Linked DNA regions of Homo sapiens: all the other regions are linked to region 2. Evidence: promoter capture Hi-C in human tissues and cell types (Jung and others, 2019). All regions are on one chromosome and are shown on one strand. The core of a region is centred on a gene start or on the middle of the fragment in contact, and the rest is flanking DNA. Distances in the headings are between cores, read along the strand shown. Region 1 holds the start of ZNF592 (zinc finger protein 592). Region 2 holds the start of SLC28A1 (solute carrier family 28 member 1). Region 3 overlaps PDE8A (phosphodiesterase 8A).

The links. Contacts are between HindIII fragments. The study calls those that stand out against the background at their distance.
Region 1: the fragment with the promoter of ZNF592 here is called in contact with the fragment with the promoter of SLC28A1 in region 2 in 1 of the 25 tissues and cell types used here (mesenchymal stem cells).
Region 3: a contact is called between a fragment that was not itself captured here and the fragment with the promoter of SLC28A1 in region 2, in 5 of the 25 tissues and cell types used here (aorta, dorsolateral prefrontal cortex, liver and 2 more).

The regions. Positions count from the first base shown.
Region 1 is chr15:84,747,105-84,750,456 of GRCh38, reverse strand. It overlaps ZNF592 (zinc finger protein 592), which reads right to left and starts at 1,865. Exons shown (of 11, transcript NM_014630.3): 1 at 1,793-1,865. RefSeq lists enhancers at 894-973, 1,502-2,341, 2,414-2,713 and silencers at 1,374-1,863, 1,924-2,343. The HindIII fragment of the contact is 21,328 bases long and covers 1-3,352 here.
Region 2 is chr15:84,883,109-84,886,435 of GRCh38, reverse strand. It overlaps SLC28A1 (solute carrier family 28 member 1), which reads right to left and starts at 1,774. Exons shown (of 19, transcript NM_004213.5): 1 at 1,685-1,774. RefSeq lists enhancers at 1,694-2,194, 2,195-2,695. The HindIII fragment of the contact is 24,351 bases long and covers 1-3,327 here.
Region 3 is chr15:85,045,469-85,048,777 of GRCh38, reverse strand. All of the region lies in intron 1 of PDE8A (phosphodiesterase 8A), which reads right to left. Among named protein-coding and RNA genes, the nearest start is that of PDE8A, 65 kb to the right of the region's middle. RefSeq lists an enhancer at 1,424-1,593. The HindIII fragment of the contact is 7,626 bases long and covers 1-3,309 here.

The DNA of each region.
Region 1 (3,352 bases), core at 616-3,115, 140 kb after region 2:
TTTTATTTATTGTCTTCTCCCCCACTCCCAGGAAAGCACCACAAGGGCAATCATTTTTGCTTTCTTTGTTCACTGCATCTAGAACAATGCCTAACACGTATTTGTTGACAAATATTTGTTGTTGAATAAATTTCCACGACTATTTATTTATTTTGAGATGGAGTCTCACTCTGTAGCCCAAGCTAGAGTGCAACGGCACGATCTCAGGTCACTGCAACCTCCGCCTCCCGGGTTCAAGCAATTATCGTGCCTCAGCCTCCCAAGTAGCTGGGATTACAGGCATGCACCACCACACCCGGCTAATTTTGTATTTTTTTAGTGGAGACGGGGTTTCACCATGTTGGTCAGGCTGGTCTCGAACTCCTGATCTCAGGCGATCCACCCGCCTCGGCCTCCCAAAGTGCTGGGATTACAGGCGCGAGCCACCGCGCCCGGCCACGACTATTAATTATTAGACTTTCCCAATGGCTAAGAACTAAAACATGGTATCTTTCTGGCTTACCAATGTACTCCCAACACCTAGCTCAGTGCCTGGCACAGAGTAAGTGCTCAGTAAAAATTTATTTAATGAATCAAAGCCACAACTAGTTGAAAAATTGGAAAATGATCAAAATGGACGCACTAGCACCACACTTCTGCCCCTTTCACTGTGTAACGTAACAGTGAGGTTGAGGAAACAGACTACTAAAATACCACCAAGCATCCACCAGGCCAGGAATCTGTCTGTCCACATCCTCCGCACTCTGCCACACTGTGCACCACACTGCACCCGCGACAGAAGCACCCTACAGGCCCTCCATGAGCACAGGCCTGAACTCAAGTGGGCAAACCATAAGCCAAATACCGTCTTACTCCCCAAGTCCCATTCTTCTACTGCCAGTCCTATTCTAGACTAGTCCTGGATGCCAAACATGCTTCCCTGGGTGGGCCTGTGGACTTATTCCAATCCAGGACCTTTAATGCCACCTTTGGCCTACTCAAAAAATGGTTTAAAATCCCTAAACAGCTTCAATAATCCTGCAGTACTCAGGAGCAGGCATACCTAAGGTCATACGGACCCCTCCCCCTCACAAACGCTGATCCAAGGCCAGGAGGCCATCTGTCCAGCAGACGCTCTCCTGTCCTCCCTCAGGTCACACTGAGCCTCCCGCCAACCCCCTCGTTGGCAGGAAGAGCCCTTGCAGAGAGACAATTTTCACCCTGATCAACAGGCCTGGTCACCCCTGAGGACCCCAACTCTGGAGCTCTAGGAATACCTGTCTGCTCCGGGAGAAACCTTCCTCAGGGTCAGAACTTGGGCTCAGGGGAGGGGAGTACTGAGGAGCGCCAAAGAGGGTCGTTCCCCGAAGTGTCTGCCCTGTGACGGCGACAGCTCTTCGGGCGGCGGGGACGGTCGGGCTGACAGGCCGTCCCAGAGGGAGAAAGTGGCACCGTTATCCGTGCCCGGGCTGGGGGCCGCCGGCTATCGCCGAGGGCGGCCGCACGTCCCGCCCAGCGCGGAGGACAGCAGCGTGCCCGGCCTGCCAAGGAGCGGCGGTCGCAGCGGCGGTCGCAGCGGCGGAAGGGGCCGGCGCCCGACGGCCGGGGGCGGGGTGGGGTGGCGGCCCGGGCCCGCCAGGCGGCGGTCGGGGGAAGTGGCTGCCGCCTCTGGCGGCGGCCAGGGTCCGCCAGGCTGCAGGGCCGGGCCCCGGCTCGGGCTCGGACTCGGTCCCGGCTGCGATCCTCCCGGGCCCAGGCTGGGGCTGCCCCGGCCCGCAGGCCCCGCTCGGCCCGGCCCGCGGGGGGCGCTTACCTGGCGGCGGCGGCGGCGACTGCAGGCCAGAGTCTCGGCCGCGCGCGTCCCCAGCGCCGGCTGCGGGAGCCACAACATGGCGACGGCGATGGCGGGCGGGGCTGCGGCTCCGGGGGCGGAGCGGGGGCGGGAGCCGGCCTGGCGGCGGGACCTGGCTGGGGCTGCCGCGGCGGGGGATTGGGGGGGGGGGGGGGCAGGCGGAAGGCGACTCGGACCTGGGCACCGGCCCAGGACGGTGCGGTGGAGGGGCTGCCCCGGCCTGGGCCCGGCCTCCCGCCTCCCGCCTCCCGCCCGAGGCGGGCTGCGCGGCGCAGGCCCGGCGACGGCGACGACGGCGGCGGCGGGTAGGGCGGGGCGGGACGCGACGGGACGGGGCGGGGCGGGGACGGCGCCGCTCAGGGCTGGACCCCCGACCCCGGCCGGCCCCCGCCCGGCTCCAGTCCCCGCCACCCGTGCTAGGCACCCTGTGCGGTCGGGCAGGCAGCCGCTGCCAGCGACCTGGGCCTCTTGTCCTCTGACGCGCCTCGGGGCAGGGGCAGGGGCCGAGGCCGCCCACTAGAGGAACAGGATCTGCCTACGCAGCTGTCTCGCCCGGCAAAGAGCGCCCAGGACCCGGGACTGCGTCCTCTTCACTGAGACCTGGCGCATAGGGGGCCTAGTCGAGGCTGTTAAGTGAAAGCAAGCAGGGGTGGCGTGGGCCTGGCGCTCAGGTGCGCCCTAAATGTTTGGTCATAGCTGGCTACAAGGACATTCGCGCAGGCTTGGAGGTGCGGGGCAGCCTGACGTGTTGCCTCTGGGGTAACCGAGGGACGCGCGGCAAACAGAGATGGAGGACTGGCAACGGGTGCCTCGAAGAGGTAGACTGGGAGATCTCTCAGGGTTACTGGGGAAACGATGACTGTGCAGGGTGAGAACTCAGTGAGTCTGGCAGAAGGCTGGGAGGGTGACCGGCAGGACCTTCCAAGAACCCGGCGTACCTGGAAACTGGGTCCGCAGCATTAGGGCGGCAGCAAGGTCAGGGTGTGGGAACACGGAGATGAGGCCCTGGTGACTAGGAGTGAGCACACACTGCTAACCATGGAGAAATTCCTTCTCCAGGAAGGAGATGCAAATGTGCAAGATGGCTGGAACTAACATGCAGCCGGAGCCTGCTGTGCACCAGGCACAGAACTGAGTTGAAGAGCTTGTCTAAAGAGTATGTTAGCCAATGAAGCAATGGAGTTAATAAAGGGTGATGATTTCAAATGTTTGGCAGTGAGAGAGAGAAAAGTAGGCCTGGAGCTCAAGAAGTACCAAGAGTAAAGGAGAAAGTTGGGTCCTACTGTGGAAGCTGAGGCAAAAGCATCCCTTAAGCCGAGAAGTTTGAGTTCAGCCTGGGCAACATAGCGAGACCCTCCCTCTCTGCAAAAGAGTAAAGGGAAAAGTTGATTGTTTTTTGTTTTTTTTTTTTGTCTTTGGAGACGGAGTTTCGGTCTCGCAGCCCAGGCTGTAGTGCAATTGCGTGGTCTCGGCTCACTGCAACCTCTACCTCCAGAGTTCCAGTGATAATCCAGCCTCAGC
Region 2 (3,327 bases), core at 525-3,024:
ATTAGGGCCGCTTCTTCCAGGAAGCCACCTATGTGATTATTTCCCTCCCCCTCCTTCCTTCCCATGGCCTCCTTTCCCCAGCCAGGCTGTTAGCTTTTTGCATTTTATCTTTCATTTTGCATCTTTCTCTATCTCCCTTTCTCACTAGATGGGGATTTATTATAACAGCAACCAATTTTCCTGTGCTGGAAAATGAGGAAAGCAGTGTAGCTGTGAGAAATAGTAAAAGTGTTTCAGGTCTGTCAAGAAAACAAAACCAAATCACACCATTTCCCCTTCATTTCATCTTTGTTAAATGAATACCTAAGCCAACGGTGTGCAAAGCGAAGGGCTGAATGCTTTAGTTTTCCAGTCCTCACACTAAACATTAAACTCATCTGACGGGATTCACAACATCTCTTTAATAATTAATGGTACGCGCTCAGGACAAAATCCTCTATGATGCATAAATACTTGCTAGTACCGGCACCTCCTGGTTGTTTTGGAAGTTTGGAGAGGATGGTGGATGGACACCCCCTCTTTTTGAAAACATTTTTTCTTCATCTGTCATTTGAATTACCAAAGCATTACAAGTGTATCATTAAACATTTAAACATTAGAGAAATATACAGAATGAGGGAAGTTAAAGTCCCCGGAATCTGAGCCCTCAGGGATGACCACTATTGAGTTTGTGTGGCATTTTCCTCCTTTTTTTTTTTTTTTTTGAGACGGAGTTTCACTCTTGTTGCCCAGGCTGGAGTACAGTGGTGCGAGCTCGGTTCACTGCAACCTCCGCCTCCCAAGTTCAAGCGATTCTCCTGCCTCAGCCTCCCAAGTAGCTGTGATTACAGGCATGCGCCACCACACCTGGCTAATTTTGTATTTTTAGTAGAGATGGGGTTTCTCCATGTTGGTCAGGCTGGTCTCGAACTTCCAACCTCAGGTGGTCCACCCACCTTGGCCTCCCAAAGTGCTGGGATTACAGGCATGAGCCACCGCGCCTGGCCTTTTCTCCACTTTTTTTTTCCTAAATGTATGTTATTTTATGTTATTCATTTTCCAATAGGGGATCACACAGTAACAGTGTTCTCATAATTTGATTTTTCTAGCAGAGTTCCGCACACTGTTGAGAGCCCATGTGTTACCTTGATTGAAAACTAGCCACAGAGCAAGACTCTACCTTTAAAAAAAAAAAAGAGGGGGGGCACGGTGGCTCATGCCTGCACTCCCAGCACTTTGGGAGGCCAAGGTGGGCAGATCACTTGAAGCCAGGAGTTCGAGACCAGCCTGGCCAACATGGTGAAACCCCGTCTCTACTAAAAATACAAAAATTAGCCAGGCATGGTGGCAGGTGCCTGTAGTCCCAGCTACTCGGGAGGCTGAGGCAGGAGAATTGCTTGAACCCGAGAGGTGGAGGCTGCAGTGAGCAGAGATCACACCACTGCACTCCAGCCTCGGCAACAGAGCGAGACTCTACCTCAAAAACAGAAAAGAAACAAAAACTAAATGCCTCTGAGCAGCACTACTGTCTCCATGGGTGGCCACCACAGGGATGGGCCTGGAGCTGTCCTCGAAGGGGTCTTCGCCAAGCCCTAGTGAAGAAAAAAAGGACGCTACCTGCTTTTCCACTTTGCCCTGTGCTACCCCCTTCCCCTCCTTTCTTCAGTCCCGCCTTCCCTCCTCTCCTACTGTCCTTTTCTCTCACCCTTGTTTCTGTCAGCATCCAGAGGGAAGCCAGGAACACAACACATCCAGCAGCAACCATGCAGTGCAGCTTATAACCTTCACATCGTTGTGGGCCCTAATCTCTACAACAAGGATTTAATGGGCTGTGTGTCTTGGGGTGGACCTTGAGCTTGGAGCCCAAAGGTCTCCACTCCTGACTGCCAAAGTTAACTTGCTGCCTCATCTGGTGGTGGGTAATAGAGCACATGAGGAGTCAGCGTGCTCCTGCTTAGGAAGTACCTGGCAGGGAGTCAAGCGGCATCAGGCTGGCAGGTGTCATTGCTGTCACAGGTCCCATCCGGGGTGTCCTGACACACTGCTCCCCTCCTCCAGGCCAGGAGACTCCGGGCTTCTCCCCTGCTCCTCCTCTCAAGGAGGCATGGCCAGCAGGGATCCCAGACCCCAGAAGCCAAGCGGTCTTTTCAGGTGGAATGTGGCAAAAAGCCACAGGCTGGGGAGTTGGGAGGCTGGATAGATTGGGGTGGAGACCCCAGGGAAAGACCAACAGCTGGAGGACCTCAGGTGTCCCGGCTGTGCCCCTCCAGCTGTGGGACCTCAGCATGTCCTTGGGCTTCTTGGTGGCCTGTTTCCTAAGGAGACAGCCTCTGAGGCCCGGCACACCCGCAGACGCCCGCTGAGTGAGACCTAGAGCTGAGCCAGGCCAGGGCAGAGTGGGGAGAGGACCACATAAATATACATAGATAATTTCCCTCACCATCCAGCAGAGCTCAGAAGGGTTGACAGTAAAGGGGCTGCTCCACCCCTCCAACTCTATCCCATTCCTCAGAGGCAACCACCTAACTTTTCTGGTTTTAGTTCTTCTGCAGGCCACCTCCTGTTTTAGGGAATTATTAGTCAAAGAGTTGGAGAGGATCCCTTCTCGCCAGGCTCTGACATAATAGGTTATTTTATAAGTAGTGAGTGAAACATTCAAAAAGCACAAGAACTGTCAGAAGAGTTGCTCAGCAATCTCTTTATTTTCTTCTCATGATTCTGCCCACACTCATTTCTTAGCTCTTCACAGGCGAGGTCTCTTTCATTGCATCGATTCGTGTATCCAAGCACTGGACAAATAAAGAGGCTTATCACTCGTCAAGTTCCATGAACATGACCTCATCATTCTTCTCTCCTAAACCTGGGATGATTGGCAGAAAGGGCATCCATACAACTTTTTCTTCTGCATTTGGCATTGAAAAATGGACTTCCCGTAGTCTGTAGTAGAAATATTGGAAAGTAGCAATAATCCTAGCACTTTGGGAGGCCAAGGCAGGTAGATCGCTTGAGCCCAGGACTTCAAGACCAGCCTGGGCAACACAGGGAGACCCTGTCTCTACAAAAAATAGAAAAAATTAGACAGGTGTGGTGGCGTGCACCTGTAATCCCAGCTACTCAGGAGGCTGAGGTGGGAGGATCATTTAAGCCTGGGAAGTCAAGGCTGCAGTGAACCATAATCACACCACTGCACTCCAGCCTGGGCGACAGGAGTGAGACCCTGTAAAAAAAAAAATTGATGACATAGAGCTAAATACAAAGACTAAAGAAATATCTTGGGCTTTTATACTCTTTGCTTGTGACTCTTCTAGTTTTCCTGTGGGAACGGACTAGCCCAAGTGTTAGAGCACA
Region 3 (3,309 bases), core at 254-2,753, 160 kb before region 2:
ATGGTCTGTATAATCATCATACTCTCACGGTACAGGAAGAAGGAAAGCAAGAGGCTCTGAGAGACCAGTTTGAACGATGAGTTTTTTGTTTGTGGCACCAGCACTTAATGAACAAGTTTAAAGCAATGAGCAAATGAATGAGACTGACCTATTGCTTGGAGAATGCAGTGGAACTGCTCAGGAAGAAGAAAGGAAGAAAATGACAGGAAGAAGAGAAAGAAAATCATTTTGCTTATGTCCTACAGTATGGGGCACAGTTTCGTAAGAGAAAGCAGAAAAAGCATAAACTGGAGGGATGCTGCTACTGCCACAATAAAGCAGGGTCAGAGAGCCACCTGGGTCCTTTATATGAATTGGTGTCTCAGTCTCTGACAGAATACTCATGAAATTTACTAAGAAGGATCAAATAGATAAAAAATAAAGTCTGAATGGAAAGAAAGAAAATATTTATAAATATTAGAAAAACATGATATACTAGGTTACCAGAAAAAAACCCTTAAAATATATTCCTAAAGTAAAAACTGTACAGTTTTTATCCTTCAACGAAGCAAACTAGGAATTAAAAACTTAAGTTTAAGCGACAACAAAAAATCCTGCCTCCTTAGAAAACTTAAAAATATTAACTCACAAAAGTAATGAATCAAAGAGAGATATGCAAACTATGCCTACAGTTAACTTGGAAAATAAAAGTGAATATTATGTAGTAAGACTTACAGGATACTACTGCTAAATTATAATGAGAGGCAAAATCTATAGTCTAAAACCTTTTTGTCACAAAATAAGTACACTAAGCTTTCAAATCATTAAGTTTGAGAAAATCAACAGTACAAACTTAAGGAAACCGGTAAGGAAAATAAATATAAAGACAATAATGAATTGTTTAAATATTAATGACCAGCATGAGTAAAAAGTATGTATATACATATTTACATAGTGTTGGTCACAAGCTGAGGGAAAAGATAAAAGTCTGGATAGCTCAGGGCAAAAGGCTCATCCCTCCTAGGTAAACAATCCTGAATATGTGGTCTACACCAAAAGCTGGTGAAATAACTTGATTTGTACAGACAAAGGACAGCATAAATTTATGATGTGAACTTATAAAAGTAACTCACCTTTGGATTTATTTTAAGAAATAAAGGCAGCTATGGGTTCACTTTTAAAAGATTTAAGACTATGAATTTTGCCACGTAAAAATTTTAGCAATATCATTTTAAAACATTCATGTTTCAGCAATTCCTTTTTACCACTGAACGCTTACTTTATTTACTTAACTAGATTGCATTTAACCTTACATCCTGTCTACGGGGTATATCCGGCTCTCAGGACCTCTATGGAGCAGAGTCTCCTAACAGCCGGACAACTACTTGCCACTGCTCCCCCCAAAATAACCACCACCAGGAAATCTGATGACATTACTCAGTGAGCAGACGTCAGCAGTGGGCCCTCAAAGAGTAAACAACTTCCTGACTGCTCTAGAAAAGAGGACTGGAACTTCTGGAATTCTTGTATCCATCCTTTCTTTATGTATGGAAATCATAATCAAACTGACCTAAGGTTTCAGGTCACAGCCCTCTTAATAATAATTTATTTTTCACATTAATATTTACAAGGGAATAATCATTTCAAATAAATTTAAATAGCATAGCTTTGATTTTATCTTTCAGCTTTAAAAGCAACTGACATTTTTAAGCAATATAGAAACAAAAGTATGTTCAATAGCTGATATCAGTAATTATACACGTTCTTAATCTTTTATACTTTTAAATATTTGTGAATGTATTAAGATTATTTAAAAAGGTTATAATATTAGGATATCAGACAATATGATGGTGTTGATTTGCATTTTAATATTGAAAAGTAAAACTTTTTGTAAATATGGTTTACAGATATATGAAACAAATTATTAGAAGTTTTGATTTCGTTTGCCTAACTGATCTAACATCATTTAGATGTGGTATTAGAAGGCAAAGTTATTATGTTACAAATCTTGATTAGGGGTGGGTGAGAAAGAAAATAGATATATAATTCCAACCTCTGTAAAATTTCTACTCCCCTCTACCCTCCCTATCCCTTGCCTGCTTTGTTTTTATTTCTTAGCTCCCAATCACCATTTGGTATACTACATATTTTATTATCTATCTTCTTTTTTGTCTGTTTCTCCCACTGGAATACAGAGTTCTATAACAACAGGGATTTACCTGCTTTATTCATTACTATATTCCCAACACCCAAAACAGTGTCTAGTACATGGTATTCAAAAAATATTTTGGAATTAATGTGCAGTCAACAGCTAATCTTTTTAAACCAATCATTTATCTAGAAATTATACTCATACCAGCTTATTACATAAATATATGTATGTAATACAGGACTTGTAGTTTTCAGAGTAATTTCATAGGTACTTTATTCCATTAAGAAACAGAAAGAATGGCTGGGCGTGGTGCCTCACGCCTGTAATCCCAGCACTTTGGGAGGCCGAGGCGGGCAGATCACCTGAGGTCAGGAGCTCAAGACCAGCCTAGCCAACATAGTAAAACCCTGTCTCTACTAAAAATACAAAAATTAGCCAGGTGTGGTGGGTGCCTGTAATCCCAGCTACTCAGGAGGGATTGAACCTGGGAGGCAGAGATTGCACTGAGCTGAGACAGAGCCACTGTACTCCAGCCTGGGTGACAGGGCGAGACTCTGTCTTAAAAAAAAAAAAAAAAAAAAGAAACAGAAAGAAGAATCTTACGAAGAGCCTAAGTCCTAGGAACTACAAAACAATCATATGATCGATCTCTTTTTTTCCTTCATCCTTTTATTAGAAACAGAAAGTTATCCTGGGGTCAATTTACATTAATTGTATACAAAACCCAGGAACTGCAGTAAAGACATAAATCCAATTTTGGTCTGAACCATACTATCCCTTCAGGCTTTCCATGTACAACCAGTGACCATCTGTTTCTCTCTCTGGACAAAGAGAAATAATGTGATCAAAGGGACACAGCCTGGAAAGAGTCAGGAGATACCAGTTCTTAGGTGTGGAAGAGTCTAAATCCAGACACTTGTGGACCACCTATTACTGTAAGACAAGTGCAGTGCTAGATACTAGGAGTACAAAGAACCTAATCCTGTCCCTTGGGTAGCAGGAGAGGAAAATGCAAATAACAACATGGTCCAGTCAGTTTTAATAGAAAAAAGTATCTAACACGTAAATACTTTGGATCCAATCATATTTAAGTCCAATTTAGTTCTTACCTTATGAGCAAGGTAAGCTCATTAACTCCATTTTATTGATGAAGAAGCTGACACTCAGAGAAGTATGGT